2 separate regions of the Homo sapiens genome follow, and region 2 is linked to region 1. Evidence: promoter capture Hi-C in 16 types of primary human blood cells and fetal thymus (Javierre and others, 2016). All regions are on one chromosome and are shown on one strand. Each heading gives the region's core, a stretch centred on a gene start or on the middle of the fragment in contact. The rest is flanking DNA. Distances are from core to core; before and after follow the strand shown. Region 1 holds the start of C12orf50 (chromosome 12 open reading frame 50). Region 2 overlaps CEP290 (centrosomal protein 290).

What was found. The method cuts DNA at HindIII sites, captures the fragments that hold promoters and counts their contacts. A CHiCAGO score of 5 or more calls a contact.
Region 2: a fragment that was not itself captured here is called in contact with the fragment with the promoter of C12orf50 in region 1 in 1 of 17 cell types (naive CD4 T cells); the score reaches 5.0 in naive CD4 T cells.

What each region holds. Positions count from the first base shown.
Region 1 is chr12:88,028,052-88,033,455 of GRCh38, forward strand. It overlaps C12orf50 (chromosome 12 open reading frame 50), which reads right to left and starts at 1,350. Exons shown (of 13, transcript NM_152589.3): 1 at 1,289-1,350. LOC107984542 (a long non-coding RNA gene) reads right to left here. Exons shown (of 3, transcript XR_007063395.1): 3 at 5,042-5,217. The HindIII fragment of the contact is 7,634 bases long and covers 1-5,404 here.
Region 2 is chr12:88,115,340-88,118,039 of GRCh38, forward strand. CEP290 (centrosomal protein 290) reads right to left here. Exons shown (of 54, transcript NM_025114.4): 18 at 1,694-1,806. Among named protein-coding and RNA genes, the nearest start is that of CEP290, 25 kb to the right of the region's middle. The HindIII fragment of the contact is 1,412 bases long and covers 545-1,956 here.

The DNA.
Region 1 (5,404 bases), core at 100-2,599:
GTATACAGGAAATAAAAACTACTTTCCTTACAGGTTAGCTGTAAAAATGATGTGATATAAGGTATTGTGAGCTATTATTATTATTTATTCATTTAATTATTTACTGGTAACTTACTCATTAGCCACTCTGCTAAGTACTTGGGGATACAGCAGTGAAATAGACAAAACACTCTGCCCACCTGGGACATGAAATCTGTTATTATTCTTTATTATCCTAGCATTTAATCTAACAGGTAATAGAAGTGAATCCAATTTCTGTGGTCAGAGAGGTTGACTCCATTCAGGTTTCCTAACAGAGAGGAAACACTTGAAACCAGACATATCATCTTTTTCACTGGATTATTTCTTGCATGAGCACAAAGCTCCAAATATTGAGTTTCTACCTTTATCTGGTTTTACTAAGATCTATACATCCTAATACATTGGAGGAATTCTCAGTTTTTCCCATTTAACTTTATAAAGTTTAATTTATATGTGGCCAATTTGTTTATATTAATTTTCTTTTTTAATGATATTTAAATATTTGTTATTACTTAGACTTTTGACAGAGGAAAATTCAGTAATTGGGTTAATAAATTTCAAATAGGAAAACAGATTTATTACACTAAGATTGACACTTACCTGAATTCAACTATTTGAATTATAATGACTGGAATCATATTAACTAAAACAATATCTTGTAACCTATGATGTTTTAATATTAGGAATTTAATGTCTCAAGGTGTCATAATATAGGCAAAAGTGCCACATGAAGATTCAAAAGCTATAGACATATAACTGGTATATATAAGGGTAGTTTCAAACAAATAATAATTTTAAATTATCTCAGATTTCTTCAGAGAAATTCAGTATGTCAAAAATACATGATAAGCTGTTACTCCAGATTTTACAAATATAAGATATCTTGCAAGAAAATAGTAAATTTTTGTTCAGCAATACAAGTTATTGCCATATCTCCCTTCATTCTACTAAAAAGATTAAGCATGTGAAGTACTGTCAATTGTACAATATTTACCTTTATGCATGTGGAATTAAAAAAGAAATAGCAGTCATTCCCAACTTCTGCCATTTTCAACTCTCTTGCTGCTAATCCAATGGTTTTTTTTTTTTGAAAAATATATATGAATTTCAGGAATGCAAATACAAGAACTATCAGTGTGTAAGGGGGAAAAATAATTTCTTTTCCACAGTCTTTCAGGCTATCAGTAGTATTCCTTTAAAACTGACCTCCTGTTGACAGTATATTACGCAATAGATAATTCTTAAAGACATTTAAATTAGAAGATACCTTCTCTAGCTTTGCAGAAACGCTGAAAGTGGTTGCTAGTAAGCACACAAACTCAAACTTCTAGAATTTTCCTCATTGTTACCTAATCCATTGTTTGCTCATCATAAATGACCTCACATGTAACTGCAGGCCAATGTTCACTCAGGTAAACTACAGTTTACCTGAGTGAACACTGTATTTCCCTTACTCAGTTTTAGCATATTAACTACAAAGGACTAGCAAAAATAAAATAGCATACTTTAATCTTTCAATGTTCTCGTTGAATATGGACTATAAACTAGTTTATACTTTTATAATAGAAAGTGATAAGTATTTCACAAGTAAACAGCTATTTCTAAATCTTCGTTTCTATAGAGGTTTTGGGAATAACACTAAAAATTTGCCATAGGTAAATGAGCTACTCATATTCTAAGATAATAAAAACAATTATTTAAATATGTACTCTCTACTATCCATTGATTTGGGAAAAATCATATTCAAATTGTGATATATTAATAGGTACCTGAAAATATATTGGGCTACTTATTCATCTTGTGGCTATATTCCATTTATTTTTCATCCATCATAAAAAGAGGAATATCTTCTTCCTATAGCAGAAAGTTTCCAGAGTGCTTGAAGGCTTTGAGAATTTGTTGAAAACAAGGGAAATACTCTGATTTCCAGAATGAAACATTTCAATCAGCAGTTATTTATATCTTCCTCTTAGTATCTTTAATCAAATAATTAAAACCCAGCAGAAATTAATAAAAAATATTCCTCATAAATGTATTAGTCCGTTTTCATGCTGCTGATAAAAGCATACCCAACTGGGAAGAAAAAGAGGTTTAATTGGACTTACAGTTCCACATGGCTGGGGAGGCCTCAGAATCATGGCAGGAGGTGAAAGGCACTTCTTACACTGCGGTGGCAAGAGAAAATGAGGAGAAAGTAAAGGTAGAATCCCCTGATAAACTGATCAGATCTTATGAGACTTATTCACTATCATGAGATTAGCATGGGAAAAACCCGTACCCATGATTCAATTACCTCCCCCTGAATCCCTCCCACAACATGTGGGAATTCTGGGAGATACAATTCAAGTTGATATTTGGGTGGAGACAGAGCCAAACCATATCATTCCACCACTTGTCCCTCCAAACTTCATGTCCTCACATTTCAAAACCAATCATGCCTTTCCAATAGTCCCCCAAAGTCTTAACTCATTTCAGTATTAATCCAAAAGTCCACAGTCCAGTGTCTCATCTGAGACAAGGCAAATCCCTTCCACCTATGAGTCTGTAAAATCAAAAACAAGCTAGTTACTTCCTAGATACAATGGGGATACTGGTATTGGGCAAAGCCACTGCAAGTGGGATAAGTTGGCCAAAACAAAGGAGTTACAGGACCCCTGCATGTCCTAATTCCAGCAGGGCAGTCAAATTTTAAAGCTCCAAAATGATGTCCTTTGACTCCAGGTCTCACATCCAGGTCATGTGGATGCAAAAGGTGGGTTCCCATGGTCTTGGGCACTCTGACCCTGTGGCTTTGCAGGGTACAGCCTCCCTCCTGGCTGCTTTCACAGGCTGGCATTAAGTGTCTGTGGCTTTTCCAGGTGCATGGCACAAGCTGTCAGTGGAGCTACCATTCTGGGGTTTGGAGGATGGTGGCTCTCTTCTAAAAGCTCCACTAGGCAGTGCCCCAGGAGGGACTCTGTGTGGGGGCTCCAGCCCACATTTCCCTTCCACACTGCCCTAGCAGGGGTTCTCCATGAGGTCCTTACTTCTGCAGCAAACTTTTACCTAAGCATCCAGGTGTTTCCATACATCTTCTGAAATCTAAGTGGAGGTTTCCAAACCTCAATTCTTGCCTTCTGTGCTCCTGCAGGCTCAACAGCAATGTGGAAGCTGCCAAGGCTTGGGGCCTGCACCCTCTGAAGCCACAGCTCGAGCTCTATGTTGGCCCCTTTCAGTCATGGCTAGATTGGCTGAGACACAGGGCACCAAGTCCCTAGGCTACAGATGGCACGGGGACCCTGGGCCTAGCCCATAAAACCACTTTTTCCTCCTGGGCCTCTGGGCCTGTGATGGGAGGGGCTGCCGTGAAGGTCTCTGACATACCCTGGAGACATTTTCCCCATGGTCTTGGGGATCAACATTAGGCTCCTTGCTACTTATACAAATTTCTGCAGCTGGCTTGAATTTCTCCTCAAAAAATGGGTTTTTCTTTTCTACTGCATCATCAGGCTGCAAATTTCTAAACTTTCATGCTCTGTTTCCCTTTTAAAATGGAATGCTTTTAACAGCACCCAAGTCACCTTTTGAATGCTTTGCTAAGCATTCAATCTTCCAGATTCAGCAATACCAGATACCTGAAATCATCTCTCAGGTACTTTGTTCAAAGTTCCACAAATCTCTAGGGCAGGGGCAAAATGCTGCCAGTCTCTTTGCTAAAATATAACGAGAATCACCTTTGCTCCAGTTCCCAACAAGTTCCTCATCTCTGTCTGAGACCACCTCAGCCTGGACCTTATTGTTCATATCACTATCAGCATTTTTGTCAAAGCCATTCAACAAGTCTCTAGGAGGTTCAAACTTTCTCACATTTTCCTGTCTCTTCTGAGCCCTCCAAACTGTTCCAACCTCTGCCTGTTACCCAGTTCTGAAGTCACTTCCACATTTTTGGGTATCTTTTCAGCAACACCCCACTCTACTAGTACCAATTTACTGTATTAGTCTGCTTTCACACTGCTGATAAAGACTGGGAAGAAAAAGAGGTTTAATTGGACTTACAGTTCCACATGGCTAGAGAGGCCTCAGAATCATGGTGGGAGGTAAAAGGCACTTCTTACATGGTGGCAGCAAGATAAAATGAGGAGGAAGCAGAAGTGGAAACCCCTGAGAAAACTATCAGATCTTGTGAGACTTATTCACTACCATGAGATTAGCATGGGAAAGACCCACCCCCATGATTCAATTACTTCCCCTGGGTCCCTCCCACAACACATAGGAATTCTGGTGGATATGATTCAAGTTGAGATTTGGGTGGGGACACAGCCAAGTCATATCAATAAATAACATAAAAGGTGCCATGAAAATCACACATTACTCTAGATAAAAACGTATTTTTAAATTGTCATGTATGTTTAATTAGAAATGTAAAAGACTAAGACAAATATGAATTCCCACTTCGGTTATGTAAAACAAGCTAAGCTGCTGGGAACTTTTGGAAGACAATGTTTTAGGATAAAAATCTGATATGTAAAATAAAATAAAATATAGAAAAAAGTTTTTAAATGTAAATTGAACATAATTAAAAAAACGAGGTAGTGTGAGAGGTAAATGAAGTAGAGAATAAAGATTTGGCTAAACCCTTGAAAATACTGGCAAAGATACATAGAAAAATATAACTACATTTTGTTTTGCCCTATCTTCTAACTCTAGAACAAAGCACCCATGAAGTAAGCACTTAAGCTACTGGGAGAAACATCCCTAAGAAATATTTTAAGTGTGTTTTGCCTCCAGATAAACACTGTCTACACCTGCGAACTTGTAGCTTCATTGGACTGTTTTCAAATATTCTTACCAAACACTATTATTGCATGTTACATGTAACATCATGATTAAAGTCATTGTGAGAATTCCTGTTTTACAAAGGAGAAAGTCTGAAAAAAAGTGTTTACTTCTTGAAGTTAGGTGCAAACAGCTACATTCCAGTAGACACAGCAAAAACAGGTCAAACTCACATGGGATTTTTTTTTTTTTTTTTTTTTTTTTTTGTCATTGCAGAGCACATAAAATAGATCTGTACATTTTGGTAGTGTTTAGAATGCCTGGAGTCTTACCTTCTCTACCTTTTTAAACTCTCTTTTCTTTTCCTTCTCCCTCAGCCCCTTTTTTCTTTTCCTTATTCTCTTCAGTTCTATTCTTTACTGTTGTGAATTTCATTCTGGTCTTAAAAAAAAAAAAAGCTGTTACGGCCAGGCGTGGTGGCTCACACCTGTAATCCTAGCACTTTGGGAGGCAGAGGTGGGCAGATCATGAGGTCAGGGGTTCAAGACCAGCCTGACCAACATGATGAAACACTGTCTCTACTAAAAAAAATACAAAACCTAGCTGGGCGTGGTGGCACACGCCTGTA
Region 2 (2,700 bases), core at 1-2,500, 87 kb after region 1:
ATCTAAACAGTAAAGCAGATGGTGATCTTAATCCCACTTTCTCCCTCTCCCAACATCCATGGTAAGAGGCAAAAAGATATAACGGTTTTTGTCTTTAGTACCACAATCATCTCTTTTAATGTTCTGCCTTTACACTACCTGTTCTGCCTGGCTTCTGTGATGTTCAAGCTCTATATCTGCATTTCTACACTCTGCTTCTTTGATCAAGAATTCCTGTGCTATGATTTCATTCTAAAGAAAAATTTAATAAATTAGACAAGTCAATGAGTTCATATCAATGTACTGCATTTTAGATTTTAAAAAGTACAATGTGTATAACTGATGTTAAAGTGCAAACAAAAATATTCTAACTATAATTGTTACAGAACTTTGTTAGAGACGTCATAAAAGAACAACCACAGAAATATAATTTGGAGAAAAACTCACCTGAGATCTAAGAAATACTAGCTCTCTCCGTAACTGTTCTATAAGATTTTCAAGAGAATTTATCTGAGATAATTTTGATTGTGCAGTAATAGACACAGGGTCTGGAAGATTAACCTTAAGCTTATTTTTCAATATCTCTGTCTGTAAGGGTACTTCACTTTTTATTATATCTTCTTTCAAATTGATATCAGCATACTTTACTTGGGAATGAACCTGTTCTTCTTCTAATGTTGCTACTTGTGATTTATCCATGTCAGCTCTATTTTCATGAATTTGTTGACAAAATATTGCAGATTTTTGCCTAAGTGATAACTTCTGCATTATGTCTGAAGCTGTTGATAAGCCATGAAAAGATGAATTGCTTTTTTGTACAAAACTAGTCTTCTCTAGTGCTTGATGGCTTCTTGACACCTTCTTCATACAGTCATCAGAAAAAAGGCATATGTCATTTATTTCTTCATGGCTTTCCCTACTAAAGGTGCTGACTAACGATTCTAGATTTCTTGAAGACTGCAGACATGGTGCTTTAAAAATCTCTCTTATTGTAATAGTTTCTGGAGTTGAATTCTCTTTAACTTGCATGGATGAAGAAAGTCTAGTTAAAGGGACAAAAGGATGCATTCCACTTTCTACACTATGGTGAATTTCAGATAACATTCTTGATAATGATCCTATGGTCATATTCTCTTCTGTCTCATTCTGATCTGACTGTGGGGTATTGAATGATGATCTCCTATGCAGCAGCTCTGCTTTATCTGAACTCCTAATCTGTATTCAGAGTAAATAATGTCTCATTAATCAATCTTTGAATCAACAGGTTAAATAAGCAAATATTTCCCTCTACTTATTTAACAACAATAATAAGATTAGATGTTCAAGAATGAGATAAAGGGGGAAGAAATGAAAACACAATAAAAATATTTTCCTGGCCGGGCGCGGTGGCTCACGCCTGTAATCCCAGCACTTTGGGAGGCCGAGGCGGGCGGATCACGAGGTCAGAAGATCGAGACCATCCCGGCTAAAACGGTGAAACCCCGTCTCTACTAAAAATACAAAAAATTAGCCGGGCGTGGTGGCGGGCGCCTGTAGTCCCAGCTACTTGGGAGGCTGAGGCAGGAGAATGGCATGAACCCGGGAGGCGGAGCTTGCAGTGAGCCGAGATCGCGCCACTGCACTCCAGCCTGGGAGACAGAGCGAGACTCCGTCTCAAAAAAAAAAAAAAAAAAAAATATTTTCCTTTACTCTCTTTGCAATACTTTACTATTACCTTTGATTGTGCTTCACTCATATTTTTGAGGCTCAATAAATCCAATTTTCTTTCACTTATTCTATCTCCTTGAGAAATGTTTTCAGTTAGGTTCAGGTCCTCAGTGGTTAATCCTATATATAAGAGAATTAACAAACTAAAAACATTAAAATAACCCTCCTACTATTCCAACACTTTAATTCTTAAAACCTACAATCAAGTTTTAATGCAAAGGTAGAATAATTGTTTCCAAAATCCCTCCAAAATTCTACATAGCCAATACAAGCTTCTCATTTAGCTCACTTTTAATGAACTATTAATAATGTGAGAACCTAATTTTTGAATTTCATCTTCTCTACCATTCTTTGCCTATTCTATATTAAAGTGCTACTTAATAAGCACCAGTTAAAAGACATATAAAGTAAATATAAATGATGAGTAATGAGTAAACTGATTATTGTACTAATAAATCATGAAGTTTTTTCTTGAGAAAGTTTTGGATGTATTATAGAAATCATAATGCTAAAAAGAACCACTCTGCTATTACTCATATACGTGCTTGGGGATTTGGGGCAAGTGAAAAAGACAGTCCTTCTGTGTGGTCTTCTTACAAAAAAGCACTGCAATGGCTATTATAAAACTTAACCAACTGTTCTCTTTAGCTCAAGTAAAATAAACCCAAGAAAGATGTTAATTTATATTCAATAAAACATTACTTTCACTTAGAAAAGAATAATTTAAGGCCAGGCATGGTGGCTCACGCCTATAATTCCAGCACTTTGGGGAGCCAAAGTGGATGGATCACTTGAGGTCAGGAGTTCAAGACCAGCCTGGGCCAACATGGTGAAACCCTGTTTCTACTAAAAATACAAAAATAAGTCAGGCGTGGTGGCTCACGCCTGTAGTCTCAACTACTCAGGAGGCTGAAGCACAAGAATCACTAGAACCCGGGAGGCGGAGGTTGCAATGAGCAAGATCGCACCAGTGCACTCCAGCCTGGGCAATAGAACAAGACAGACTCCATCTCA